3 separate regions of the Homo sapiens genome follow, and all the other regions are linked to region 3. The links are contacts of gene promoters, found by promoter capture Hi-C in blood cells and fetal thymus (Javierre and others, 2016). All regions are on one chromosome and are shown on one strand. The core of a region is centred on a gene start or on the middle of the fragment in contact, and the rest is flanking DNA. Distances in the headings are between cores, read along the strand shown.

Region 1 (4,282 bases), core at 863-3,362, about 14 Mb after region 3:
CCCTGGTAGATATATCCAGAGTGCTGAGTAAGCACTAGTTCTGGTCTCAGTGTCATCTTGTCTCAATTACTTCCAAGCATTGATCTCATGCCCACTCTTCTCCTAGATCCTTGGCCACTTGCCAGATCATCCTTGCTCTCACACCCTACCATAGCCACCTCTCTCCCATACCTGTCTTTGTGATTCCCACCATGACCAACCATGTCCCCAAGCAGGAGAGCCAGTAGTGACCCCCAACCTTCCTTCCCTGGGCTGGTAATAGCATTACCAAAGTGATCACGATTCCACCTCCTAATTGTGTCCCAAGCTATACCCCTAGGCAAGTAGTGGCCACCACCTTTTAAATGTCTCTATCCTGAATCCCTCAACACAGTTCTAGTCCTGTAGGATAAACTATCCACTTCATGTCTAAACTAACTGTTCTTTGAAACATCTCAGACTCTAAAAGATGTCCCATTGGGCCATGTTCAGATGATTTTTATTAAAAAATTTTAAAAATAAAGATGGTCCATATCAAAATTTCTGATTATCTCTAGAGATAACTGACTCTACTACCAACTTTACAATCCTCGCTAGTGGAGCTTCCATATTTCCAGCTGCTAAACCCAAACACCTTGCTTTTACCCCTAAATCCTACTTTTCTATCTCAAAATCCAGGCTTCCCTACTTAAAAAAACTGATCTAAAATCCAACTACCACCTCCACAGCCACCACACAAGTCCAGCCACCAGTAACACTCACCTGGACTACTGCAGCAGCCTTCTTCACTATCTTCCTATCTCATACCTCACACTCAGCCTGTTCTCTCAGCTTGGCCACACACAGGGAACCTGATGAGACCTGGATCAGATCACATACCTCCTCTGCCCCCAAACTGTCATTGCTCATCACACACTCCAGAAGAAACACCCGACAACTGACAGCCATTTTTTGTCTGATTCCTGCATCCCAGCTTTCAGTTCCCATGAGAAAGAAAACAGCTGTAGTTTCCTAAACCAGCTCAGCCTGACCTTCAAGCACTTGCTCATCTGGTATCTAAGCCTGAGACAACGTTCCACACCTTACTTTACTGGTTCCCAGCAATAGGAACCATTCTATACCAGCTTCCAGCCTGGATGTATGACCCTGGGACTGATGTTTGTTCAGGATTCCTAGAACCAAGGACCCAAAGAGTGCCAAGAGAAGAGTCCCAGAACACAATCTCAGAGACAAACACTGGGGTCAGCATCAGTGAGGGCCCGAAACACTCTCCACTCACCTGTGTAAAGCCCATAAGTTTAGCTTCTGCAGTCACGGGAACCTGCGGGAAGAGGAAGGCTATGAGAGGCAGGTAACTATGGTGGAAGCTCCATGGGCTGATGCCTCCTTGTTTCCCTGCGCAGCCCTGGAGCCAGGTGACTTGGTGATGACTAAATTATTATTGCTCCTCAGTTCCGTGTGACTCTTACCTGCTGTGGGACCTTGCACAAGGACTCAACTTCCCTGTGCCTCGGTGTTATCCCCCTTCCAGGCTGTTCCAACTCTGAGTAACTTTAGAAAAAATTTGAAAAGTCTAACTCAGACCATGTGCCTCGTCTGTTCACAACCACCCATGGCTCTCAGCGTCTTGAAAAGAAAGAGCCTCATTTTACCATTCGGGCGTGAACGTTACTGGCTCAATCGTCCCAGCAAGATTCACAGAAACCGGCCCCTCCGCCTGCCACACCCTCCACAGCCCACGACACCAGGCTTGTAAATGGGAGCCCCACCCGCGAGGGCCTCATAGTCCTGGACTCTAGGGTCGGGCTGCAGGGACGCAAGCAGGCGCCCCTCATGCAGGGTGTTGGATTTCCGGCGGAGAGGGCAGGTGAGGCCCGGGAGACGCAGCACTCACCGAAGTCGAATCCCTAAGCACGGCCGCCGCCATCGGATTGTGAGCGGAGCGGGGCCGGGAGCGGCGGGCGACCCGGGGCGGGAACCCAGGCACGGCTGCCACCAGCGCCAGCGACCCACCGGCTGATGCGCAGCGGGGCGACCCCCGCTCTGTGCCGGAGGCAGCGTTTCTAACTCAGGCGGCGTGGGCCGAGGTAGAGAACCACCAAAATTACCATCTCGGAGCGGTGCCGGAAGTCCCGCCTTACCGTATGCAACAAACGGAGACAGGTCCGTTCCTGAACGTTGATTGGCTCCGCGTCTTTGCAGCTTGGCGCTCGGCATTATGGGTAATGTAGTTCTCAGAAGCCCAGGGTTCCGGTGCCCTCCCTGAGATTCACCCGGAACAAGGGCTAAGCGGCCCGCGGAGGGCGCTAGGAAAAGGCGCGACACCAAGAGCGAGACAGGGACTTGCTGCTCCTTAAAGGGGCCGCTGGCCGATTTCCGCAGTCCCATACCCACTGAAGGGAGTGTCTGGGTTAAGATAAGAGGTTGTAGAGACCAAGGTTCTTATTAAGCAGATGAAGCTTTCACGCAGCAGGCTTCAGAGGGAATAGATTGTAAATGTTTCCTATCAGACTTTGAAAGGTGCCAGACTCTTAATTCTTTCCTGGACCATGAAAATAAAAAAACCCTGGAGAGGAAAGGGGATTCTCAGCAAAATGCAGATTCCACAAGACACACCTTTGCAGGGCCTCTTCAAAATATGTCAAATAAATAAAGTTTAGAGTAAAATACTTCAATTCCTTTCAGGGCCTGCTATCTGTCATGTAATGCTATACTACAATCAGGCTGGAATTCACTGTCTTATTGCTACAAGAAGTCTTAAAATCTCTGTTTTAATGTTAATGCTGGTCAGTTGTGCCTGAATTCCAAGGGGAGGAGGGCAAGTCTGACCCTCACTTCCCATCACGTCCTGAACTAGTTTTTCAGATTAACTTTGGAATGCCCTTGGCCAAGAGGAAGGATGCATTCAGATGGTTGGGGGGCTGGGAATTTTATTTTTGGTTTACACTTCTCATGCCTCTTGGAATCTCTGAACCACATACAACGGCCATTTGTTGAGTAAAAGCTTCCAATGCAGGAAACTGTCTCTTTCAGCCTCATGCTATACACCATTAAAACAGTAATTACTGGCAATAAGACTGGGCTTTCTTAAACATACAGGATCTCACAGACCATAAGCCTATGATCCTTCATACCAGCTGCCCATAATACTTTTGGTTTTGGAAGCAGCACCCCATAACCTCAGCATGGCTACCAAGGCCTCCTTAAGACAGGGTAGAATGAATAAGATCTAGTATTTGATAGCACAGTAGAGAGACTACAGTCAACAGTAATTTATTGTACATTAAAAACAACTAAAAGAGTATTATAACTAGAATGTTTGTAACACAAAGAAATGATAAATGCTTGTGTACCCTGATATGATTATTACACATTGTATGCCTGTATCACAATATCTCACGTATCCCATAAATATACATACATACTATGTACTCATAAAACTAAAAATTTTAAAAGACAGATAAATGGCAAGCAGGTAGATGAAAACATGCTTAACATCATTGATCACTATAAAAATGCAAATCAAAACTACAATGAGATATCATCTCACTCTAGTTAAAATGACTTTTATGCAAAAGACAGGGAATAATGAATGCTGGCCAGGACAGAGAGGAAAGGGAAACTTCATACGCTGTTGGTGGGAGTGTAAATTAGTAAAGCCACTATGGGGAACAGTTTGGAGGTTCCCCACAGAAGTAAAAATAGAATTACCATATGATACAGTTTACACCACCCAGAAAAGAAATCAGTATATCTAATAGAGATCTGCACTCCCATGTTTATTGCATCACTATTCACAACAGCCAAGATTTGGAAGCTACCTAACTGTCCATAGATAAATGGATAAAGAAAATGTGATGCATATACACAATGGAGTAGTATTTAGCCATAAAAAAAGAATGAGATCCCATCAATTGCAAGAAGACGGGTGAAATTGGAGGAAATTATGTTAAGTAAAATAAGCCAGGCACAGAAAGACAAACTTCACATGTTCTCACTTATTTGTGGGAGCTAAAAATTTAAACAATTGAACTCCCGGAGATTAAGCTTAGAAGGATGGCTACCAGAGGCTGAGAAGGATAGCAGAAATGGAAGGGAAAGTGGGGATAGTTAATGGGTGCAAAAATATAGTCAGATAGAAGGAATAAGACATAGTATTTGATAGCACAACAAGGTGACTACAGTCAACAACAATCTATTGTAGAATTAAACATAACTCACCGGGCATGGTGGCTCACGCCTGTAATCCCAGCACTTTGGGAGGCCGAGGCGGGCAGATCACAAGGTCAGGAGATCGAGACCA
Region 2 (4,203 bases), core at 2-2,501, about 14 Mb after region 3:
AGAGCAAGTTACTCTCTTCTTGCCCTGGATCATCCACCTTCTGTTTTCCAACATTAAAGTTCTTGGATCTTGGGCCTTTGGACTCTGGAACATACAAGAATGACCCTCACCCAGTTCTCAGGCCTTCAGCCTCCAACTGGGAATTTCACCATAGGCTCCCTTGGTTTTCAGGCCTTCAGATGCAGACTGAATGATACCACCCACCTTCGTGTCTTACCAGGTTGCAAAAGGTATATCCTGGGACTTCTTAGCCTCCATAACTGGATGAGCCAAGTCCCATAATAAATCCCCTCTTGTACATCTATGTATCCTATTGGTTCTGTGTTTCTCTGGAGAATCCTGACTAATACAATAGGTTTCAGTAATTTTCATTTCACAACTGTTTTTCTAAGATGATCTCAACTCCCCATGCAAGCACTGTCCCTGCAGTAACAGTATCAATGATCAAAATTTCCCATCAAAGAGATGAAAGCTAGGTGTCCCAAACCTTTATTCTGGTATTCTGATGTCCCCTTTGCACAAGTGCTCTGACTGTGAACACTACAGACACTGTTCTACTTTAAAATGGCATATGCTAAGTGGCTCTTCTGTTTAGAAAGTTGCTACAATCCTAAAAGAAGCATATCTAAGAATATGGAGGAAGAAATATTATATGAATACAACACTGTTCCTTACAGGGCTAGACACACTCACCGATTACACAGGCAGGAGAGGCATTTTCTGTGAGACAAAATTCCTCTTTCGTCCTCCAGCTTCGGTGCGATCTAACGGATGTTTTATCATTCCTGTCATGGCGCTATGTAAACTCTATTTCCCTTATTCCTTACTGAGCATAATGAAACTCACAAAGCTGACTCTAACGTTCTACTTTACATAAATGTGTGGAGAAAGAAGGTAATGTTTACTAGGCTCTCGCCAAGGGTAGAGGCATTTTGTATCTGAATAACTCTGACTACCTAGGTGACTAGTTGTACACAATACCCTCCAAAAATCTCTGTATGGTACCTTAAAAAAGCAGCGAAGCTCCTCCCTTGTCCAAGGAGGCTGGAGACACCACCTCTCAGCCTTCCCCTCCACCTTTCTCCATAGCAACGGGGTCATTCCTCCCTGAGGTCCAGGAGAAGGGCGACCTCTGCCAGCCCAAGAAGCGGTGAGAACTACATTACCCAGAGGCCCGTGAGCCAGGTTCTTGGCGTGGAGCCAATGAGGCTCAGGGGAGGGACATTTCCGCTCTGTCCAACTTGTCGGAGCGGAACTTCCGGCGTCCTCCCTGTGGCGGGCACTTTGGCTTGTGTCAGTTCCATCCGCGGGTGCCGGATCTGGACCTAGGTGCTGACAGCGAGAAGGCGCGAGGAGAGTCGTTTTCTCAGCTGCACAGCCGGGGCCTGACGGTCGCCGGCGGTGGTGACAGCTTTGCTCTTGTCTCCGCCCGGATCGTCCACCGCTCCCGGCCCGCTCCGCCCAGAGTCCGATGGCGGCGGCACTGAGGGCCCCGACCCAGGTGAGCGCTGCGTCCTCCCGGCCTCCTCTGCCCTCCCCACCCGAAACTGAGGGACGCGTGAAGGGTTTTCTGCAGCCCGGACCGCACTGTCCGGCACAGTGAGGCGCTGGTGCTGGATCTCGTTTCTGGTAGTGTGGCAGGGAGCGGGAGAGCGACACGGTCAGGGGGCTGCGCGGGCAACAGCTTGGAGCTGCGCCTGAGCCGGGAGGCTGGGGAGACCCAGGCCGGCCTCACGCGTGCAGGTAGCAGAGGGTGGGGCAGCGCCGCGCTGCATTGGCCCCACTGAGTTTCACCAGCACACTGAGGGCCACAGCGCGTAGGACAGAAGAGGGGCACGGCCCCAGTCACGCTTCTAAAAGTTTCACAAAAGCTGTTCAGAGGAACGCGCTGGAAGGGCAGTGATGATAGCAGGCATGGAGGGACCTAGTCTTTTTACGAGGTCACAAAGCTGGTAAAAGTCAGCACCAAGGACTGACACCCAGATACAAAGCAGTCATCCCTGGACACCTGGCTCTGGTGTTCCACATTGGAACCAGAAGTCCATGGAGCCACACTTTGGTCACCTGCCTCTCAGAACATGTTTCCTCCCACAGATTGCCACTAGTACTTACAGGTCCGTAAGAAGCACTTGAAGACCCTACAAGGGTAAGTGGAGGAAATCCAGAAGCTCATTGATTCCAGCAATGGGATCTCTAGGATTGGGACTGTGGTGACCTGGGATTCTTTACTTACCGCTTTTCCAGGCCTTGAGCCTAGGGACTCTGAACAAAAATATGTCCAGGGTGAGTATTATATGAGGTGGTGCCTGTTGCTGGCAAATAATAGGATGAATGTGGAAGTTTGTCCCAGAGATAAGTACAGGTGTTTGGAGCTGCTTGGAGGTGAGGCTGAGCTGGTTAAGAGAACCTCAAGTCTCATTTCCTTCTCATGGGAACAGAGAGCAGAGGTACAGGAGTTAGAAACTAAATGGCTGTCTCAGATGTCTTTGTTCTGGAGATGATGGCAGCAATGAAGATTTGGAGCAGAAGAGGGAGGTGATCTTCCCCAGGCCTCATGAGGCTCCTGTGGCTGAGCACAGACAACAGACTGTGGGTTTAAGGGAGTTGGTAGCAATACCAAAGAGGAAAGAGGAGACTACTGCAATAGTCCAGGTGAGTGTAGATGATGTGGGCCAGAGTAGTGGCCACAGTGTGGCAGAAATGGTTGAATTTTGGATTGTAGGTCGGCTCTGATTTTCTGGTATTGGGACTGAGAGATAAGAAGGGGTGACTCAAGGCTTTTTGAGTTTAGTAGCTGGAAGCATAGAAGCTCCATCTACTGGGAGAGCCAAGTAGATAGTAGAATTGTTTTTCACTCAGGACATCAGGAATGTGTTTTGTCCATGTTAAAAATATGAGATGTTTTAGAGAATAAGTAAGTAGCTATATCAAGTGGCTAGGTGGACACACAGGTCTTGGACTCTGAGGAAGGGTGCAGGATAGAGACTTCTACAAAGAGTGGAGGATATTATTGAACTAGGATGGAGCCCTATGTCTGTTAGGCCATTTGCATTACTATAAAGAAATACCTAAGGCTGGGTAGTTTATAAAGAAACAAGGTTTATTACAGCTTATAGTTCTGCAGGCTGTACAGGAAGCTTAGCGCTAGTCTCCACTTCTGGTGAGGGCCTCAGGAAGCTTCCAATCATTGCAGAAGGCAAAAAGGGAGCCAGCAAGGCAGGAGGGAGGCACCAGTCTCTTTTTAGCAACCAGGTCTCATGTGAACTTATTACTGTTGGAAGGATACTATGCCATTCATGAGGGATCCACCTCCATGACCCAGATAACCTCCCACTAGGCCCCACTTCCAACATTGGGGATCACATTTCCAGGTGAGATTTGAAGGGGACAAATATCCAGGCTATATCAGTGTCTTACCTTGGGTTGATAATGAAATAACCTATATTGGTGGCTTAAACAACAAAAATTTGTTTCTCACAGTTCTGCAGGCTAGGAAATTCTACATCAGGGTGCCTCTAGATTCACTTATTTGTGATGGGCTGCTTCTTGACTTGCAGTGGCTGCCCTCTTGCTTTTTCCTCACATGGCCTTTCCTGGGAGGGAGTATGTAAAGAAAGCAAGGAATCTCTTTCTTTCTATTCTTACAAAAGCATTAATTCCATCATGAGGGCCCCACTCTTTTGACCTTATCTAAATCTAATTACCACCCAAAGATTCCATCTCCAAATACTATCACATTATATTAGGCTTCATTGTGTTAGTGCTTCAATGTAAGCATTTTGTGGGTGGGCGTGGGGCAGAAACATTAAGCCCATAACATCATAGATCCCATTTAGTAGTGGGATTCCTGGTCATGATGATAATATTAATAGCAGGCCAGGAAGGGGAAGGGTGGGAGCCACAAGAGGGTACCATACTTGGGTATCTGGATGGATGTTGTGGAAATCACAAATACAGGTTATAGAGGGAAGCAGCCCTAGGAATAATACAGAGAGAGGATACCAGGCAGGTGGCCAAGGGTTATGAAGGATGAGTGAATATAAGATGGATGTGGAGGCTGCATTAGTCCATTTTCGTGCTGCTGATAAAGACATACCTGAGACTGGGAAGAAAAAGAGGGTTAATGGACTTGCAGTTCCACATGGCTGGGGAGGCCTCACAATCATGGTGGAAGGCAAGGAAGAGCAAGTCACATCTTACATG
Region 3 (4,579 bases), core at 1,676-4,175:
TATATGTATATATGTATGTGTGTGTGTATATATATATATATATATATATATATATATATATATATATACCCACCCTGTGTCCAAGTGTTCTCATTGTTCAATTCCCACCTATGAGTGAGAACATGCGGTGTTTGGTTTTCTGTCCTTGTGATAGTTTGCTCAGAATGATGGTTTCCAGCTTCATCCATGTCCATACAAAGGACATGAACCCATCTTTTTTAATGGCTGCATAGTATTCCATGGTGTATATGTGCCACATTTTCTTAATCCAGTCTATCATTGGTGGACATTTGGGTTGGTTCCAAGTCTTTGCTATTGTGAATAGTGCCACAATAAACATACGTGTGCATGCAGCACACTCTTAAATAATATGTCAGAGTACATCAGGAGTGAAATTAGGAAATACCTTAGACAACTGAAAATGAAAACAATGGCCAAAACTTTTGGAATGAGGCAAAAGCAGTAGGAGGAGGGAAATTTATATCTGTAAATGCTTATATTAAAGAAGAAAGATCTGACATCCACAGCCTAATTTTATTTTCATGAACTAGAAAAGGAGAATCTTACAGAAAGTGATTAGGAGGGAAATAATAAAGATTAAAGTATTAATAAATAAAATACAGAAGAAGAATACAAAGAAAATCAACCAAACCAAGAGTTGATTATTCTGAAAGACTAACAAAATTGTGAAAACTTTAGCAGGACTGACTAAAAAAGACTCAAGTAACTAAAAGTGGGGACATTATTACCCATTTTTACAGAGGTGAGCCACAGCGCCCAGCTTCATTTTTGTATAAGGTGTAAGGAAGGGGACCAGTTTCAATCTTCTGCATATGGCTAGCCAGTTATCCCAGCAGCACTTATTGAATAGGGAGTCCTTTCCCTGTTGTTTTTGTCAGTGTCATCAATGGCATGGTTTGGATGTGTCCCCACCCAAATCTCAGCTTGAATTGTATCTCCCAGAATTCCCACATGTGGGAGGGACACCACAGAAAGTCAGAATTATTAATTAAAAGGGAAACAGAACTAAGAATTTTAAAAATTCACAGCCTATCTACTTTGGAAAAAAAAATTAGAAAACCTGTTCTGGATAAAACAACGGTAGAGATAAGCAACTGATTTAGGAGATTAGTTTGGATTGGTCATGTCAACAGAAGCCAGGACCTGCTGTCCATTAACACTGGAAGAATGACCCCAAAGGCATCTAGGAGATCATAGAGGCTGCTCCTCCCAACACAGACCCAGAGTGCACGGACCTGGGAAGCAGAAGGGACCTTTGATGCCAAGTGCCCCTAACCTTTTAGGCTCAGTTCCCTGCATGCTACGATTGAGTGTGTCAATACATCTTATCTTTCGGGAAGGCAGAGTAGATCAAGGATACAGCTATAACTGGCATATGAATAGTGATCACTCAATTTTCAGAGAGCGGATGTTTGGCATCAAAAGTTTGGCACAGTCACCTTATTTTTGTGTCTAAACAAAATTTTGAAAAGTTTTTAGTTTAGAAAAATAGGTAAACAGTAGACTCCATTTTTTTTAAAAAGAAGAATATTGGTTTATAGGCCAATGTATGTTTATAGGGAGAAAAAAAGTTACCTTCAAAAGAGCAGGTTTTTAGATGAATTGTTTCCTAATTTAGCTTTATACTGTTATTATTTTTTAACCAATGCCAGTTTTTAAATTGCTAACTATAATAAAGAAATTATGTTTCACCAAGAAATAAGAAGAAACTTAAAAAAAAAAATCTTTAATTATTGAGGTATCTGTTGCCTAGGCTGGAGGGCAGTGGTGGCATCATAGCTCACTGCAGCCTCAATCAAACTCCTGGGCTTCAGCAATCCTCCCACCTCAGCCTCCTGAGTACTTGGAACTTGTAGTCCCAAGATCAGGCCACCATGCCTGGCCAGTTAAAAAAAAATTTTTATAGAGACGAAGTCTCCCTGTATTTCCCTGTCTGGTCTCCAATTCCTGAGCTCAAGGGAACGTCCTGCCCTGGCCTCCCAAAGGGTTGGCATTACAGGTTTGAGCCACTGCGCTTGGCCAGGAAGAAAACTCTTTATAAGACATGCTCCTTCACCTATAGAATCCTCCCGTTTTACTGCATTTACAATCTCAATGTAAGATTGATACCAATGCCTAGCTCTTCATCAGTCATTATTGCTCTGAGGTACTGAGCAATTCACTACATTCGCTGAAATTTGATGTTTCTACATCTAAGGAGAAATATGAATACCATGAAAAGTTTATGGGAAGATAGCTATTCCATGACGACACCGCTTCTCCACTAGTAGCTGTGATCTTAAATGGGGGTGGCTTTTCCTGCCAAACCAGTGGTCCCACAGCTTCTGGAGTAGGGGCTGGTGTCTTCCTGCTCCTCATTGCCCCTGCCAAACCATTCCACCTGGCTCATCCTTTAAACCGTTAGTTTTAACCTCCCATCGTCAGATTATCCTAATCCTTGAAGATTTTATCTCCTCGTTTGTTCTCTTCCCAATAACACTCCTGTCATCGTGGGAGGCGTTTAGACTTCAGGAATTCCTGTCTATACACTATTTTCGCTCAAAGACTCAGGAAGAGAGACGGACGACTCACAGGGTCACAGTCCACATTCCCCACCAGGCGCTCAGAGATATGGAATACGTTCCCGGTGGGCACTGCGGTGTGTGTAGTCAAGGACCACCGCGGAGTCCAACGCTTCCCGCTGAAGAGTGAGATTATAGACATTTTCCTTTGGCATTGGAGGAAGCGGAGTCCAGACACACTCTGAGTCGCGGGCAAGTTGGCTCAGGCGGGTGGACGAGTGAATTCTGGGAACTGTAGTCCATCAACTTCATGGAATGGCGGACCCTTTGGCTCAAGCAGTTGAACCGGGGAATTCTGGGAAGTGGAGTCCAGACGCTCTGTGGAGACGCGAGCACTTCCGGTGTGTGAGCCTGCGGTTGCTACATAACCGCGTAGTTTGAGCCATTTCTGCGTCTGGCGGGTCCTTCTGAACTTGTCACCTTCGCTTGGGGTCGCAACGACCCGATGATCGATGATCCAAGCAAGGGAAAAGAAGCCTTGGCGGAGAGCGGAGGTTTGGTGGGGGCGGGGAATGGGGTTTTTTTCCCGTCCACGGAAGCTTTCTGGGATGGGGGTGCTGTGCTCGCATCCCGGGGGTTGGAATTGGCGGGGTCCTCTGTGCCCTGCTGTGAGCGTTTCCAGGACTTTGACCTCGCTCAGCCTGCCTCTCTCCACCCTACCTGTGCGACCGCTTTCTCGCAGTGTGACGTGGAGTGTTACTCAATGTCCTTATACTTTCCATTGCTGTTTTTGGTAATGGGGACATTAGAACCATCCTAGTAGAATCGTTTTTGGGAACTGAAAGAGATAACGCAAATGAGAACCTTAAAGCAGTCCCTGTCACTTGGTGACTGGTGGTCTCTTGTTAACTTCCCGAAGAGGTCAGGTCCCCGGGTGGAGTCATAGCTTCAGCTGCAGGGGCCCTGGTCCTTCTCCCTAATCCCTGCAGGACGCTGGATGATCCCGGGAGGCCTTCTGACCTCTTTTTAGGAAAGCGAGTTGCGTCCGCTTCCACGAAGGGCGGGGAGCATTTAACTTTTATGGGGGACCGCGATGCAGTCAGGGTATTTCACAACTTTCGCCTTCCCCAGCCTGACCTTTCTAAAAGAGCTGCAGGGAGGGGACTTCTTGGCTACTGAGGGCAAATCTCTATGTGATTGGTCCTTGGCTTTTTTCCTTTATAGAGATGTTCACCCAACCGAGAGTGTGTCCTCGGGAATGGGTGTTGATAATCATTAAGCCGTAATTGGTAACTTCATTCTAAGTGCTTTATACAAATAAATTTAGGCCACACTGTGGCTCTGTGAAGTATTGCTTTTCTTTGTTTTAAAAATGAGAGTGAGACACAGGGTGCATAGCAGCCAACTAGTGAGAGGTAGAGCTGGGGTTGGCACCTAGGCAGTCCAGGTCAGAGCCTGAGTTGATCACCTCTTGGATACATTCTCATTGAGGCAGAGGAACTAGCTGGACTCGTAGGGAAAGCAAGTTAGGACCTGATTGAAAGGACGTTGAGAGCAAGGCTCGTGGGCTTGGACGTCTAGGAATTTTTAAAAATTTCTCAACTATTTTGTTTCATGTTTTCCAAGTATTTCGTACTGTTGTGGAACTGTATCATTGTGGAAAAGTCTGAAATAGGAGAAATGAGAGTAGAAAAAGTTTTTTAATTACCCATGTATCCAAGATGTAAAGGTAGTAACTGTTAAGCTTCTAATTGATTTCTTTTGTCTTTCTTTGTGTCTACTTCTATATTTGTTGATAAACATTTTTTTAAAAATTGTTATATTTTAATGTGTTTTCCCATATGTCTTTTAACTATAGAAAATTTTAAATATTGCTAATAGAGACTAAACTAGTGAGGCTGGTTGTGGTGGCTCATGCCTATAATCCCAGCACTTTGGGAGGCCAAGGCAGGTGGATCACTTGAGGTCAGTAGTTTGAGACCAGCCTGGCCAACATGGTGAAACCCCATCTCTACCAAAAATACAAATATTAGCCGGGCGTGATGGCACGTGCCTGT

The links. The method cuts DNA at HindIII sites, captures the fragments that hold promoters and counts their contacts. A CHiCAGO score of 5 or more calls a contact.
Region 1: a contact is called between the fragment with the promoter of ZNF416 here and the fragment with the promoter of ZNF230 in region 3, in 1 of 17 cell types (naive CD4 T cells). The highest score is 7.0, in naive CD4 T cells.
Region 2: a contact is called between the fragment with the promoter of ZNF530 here and the fragment with the promoter of ZNF230 in region 3, in 2 of 17 cell types (activated CD4 T cells and non-activated CD4 T cells). The highest score is 7.5, in activated CD4 T cells.

Annotation. Positions count from the first base shown.
Region 1 is chr19:57,576,799-57,581,080 of GRCh38, forward strand. ZNF416 (zinc finger protein 416) reads right to left here and starts at 2,113. Exons shown (of 4, transcript NM_017879.3): 1 at 1,874-2,113; 2 at 1,259-1,300. The coding sequence starts at 1,906. RefSeq lists a silencer at 1,803-2,022. The HindIII fragment of the contact is 6,514 bases long and covers 1-2,436 here.
Region 2 is chr19:57,598,634-57,602,836 of GRCh38, forward strand. It overlaps ZNF530 (zinc finger protein 530), which reads left to right and starts at 1,252. Exons shown (of 4, transcript NM_001321981.2): 1 at 1,252-1,501; 2 at 2,095-2,146. RefSeq lists enhancers at 1,300-1,509, 1,600-1,719. The HindIII fragment of the contact is 5,329 bases long and covers 1-3,135 here.
Region 3 is chr19:44,000,032-44,004,610 of GRCh38, forward strand. ZNF230 (zinc finger protein 230) reads left to right here and starts at 2,926. Exons shown (of 5, transcript NM_006300.4): 1 at 2,926-3,076. ZNF230-DT (ZNF230 divergent transcript) reads right to left here and starts at 2,839. Exons shown (of 3, transcript NR_110727.1): 1 at 2,234-2,839. RefSeq lists an enhancer at 2,689-3,198. The HindIII fragment of the contact is 6,099 bases long and covers 1-3,119 here.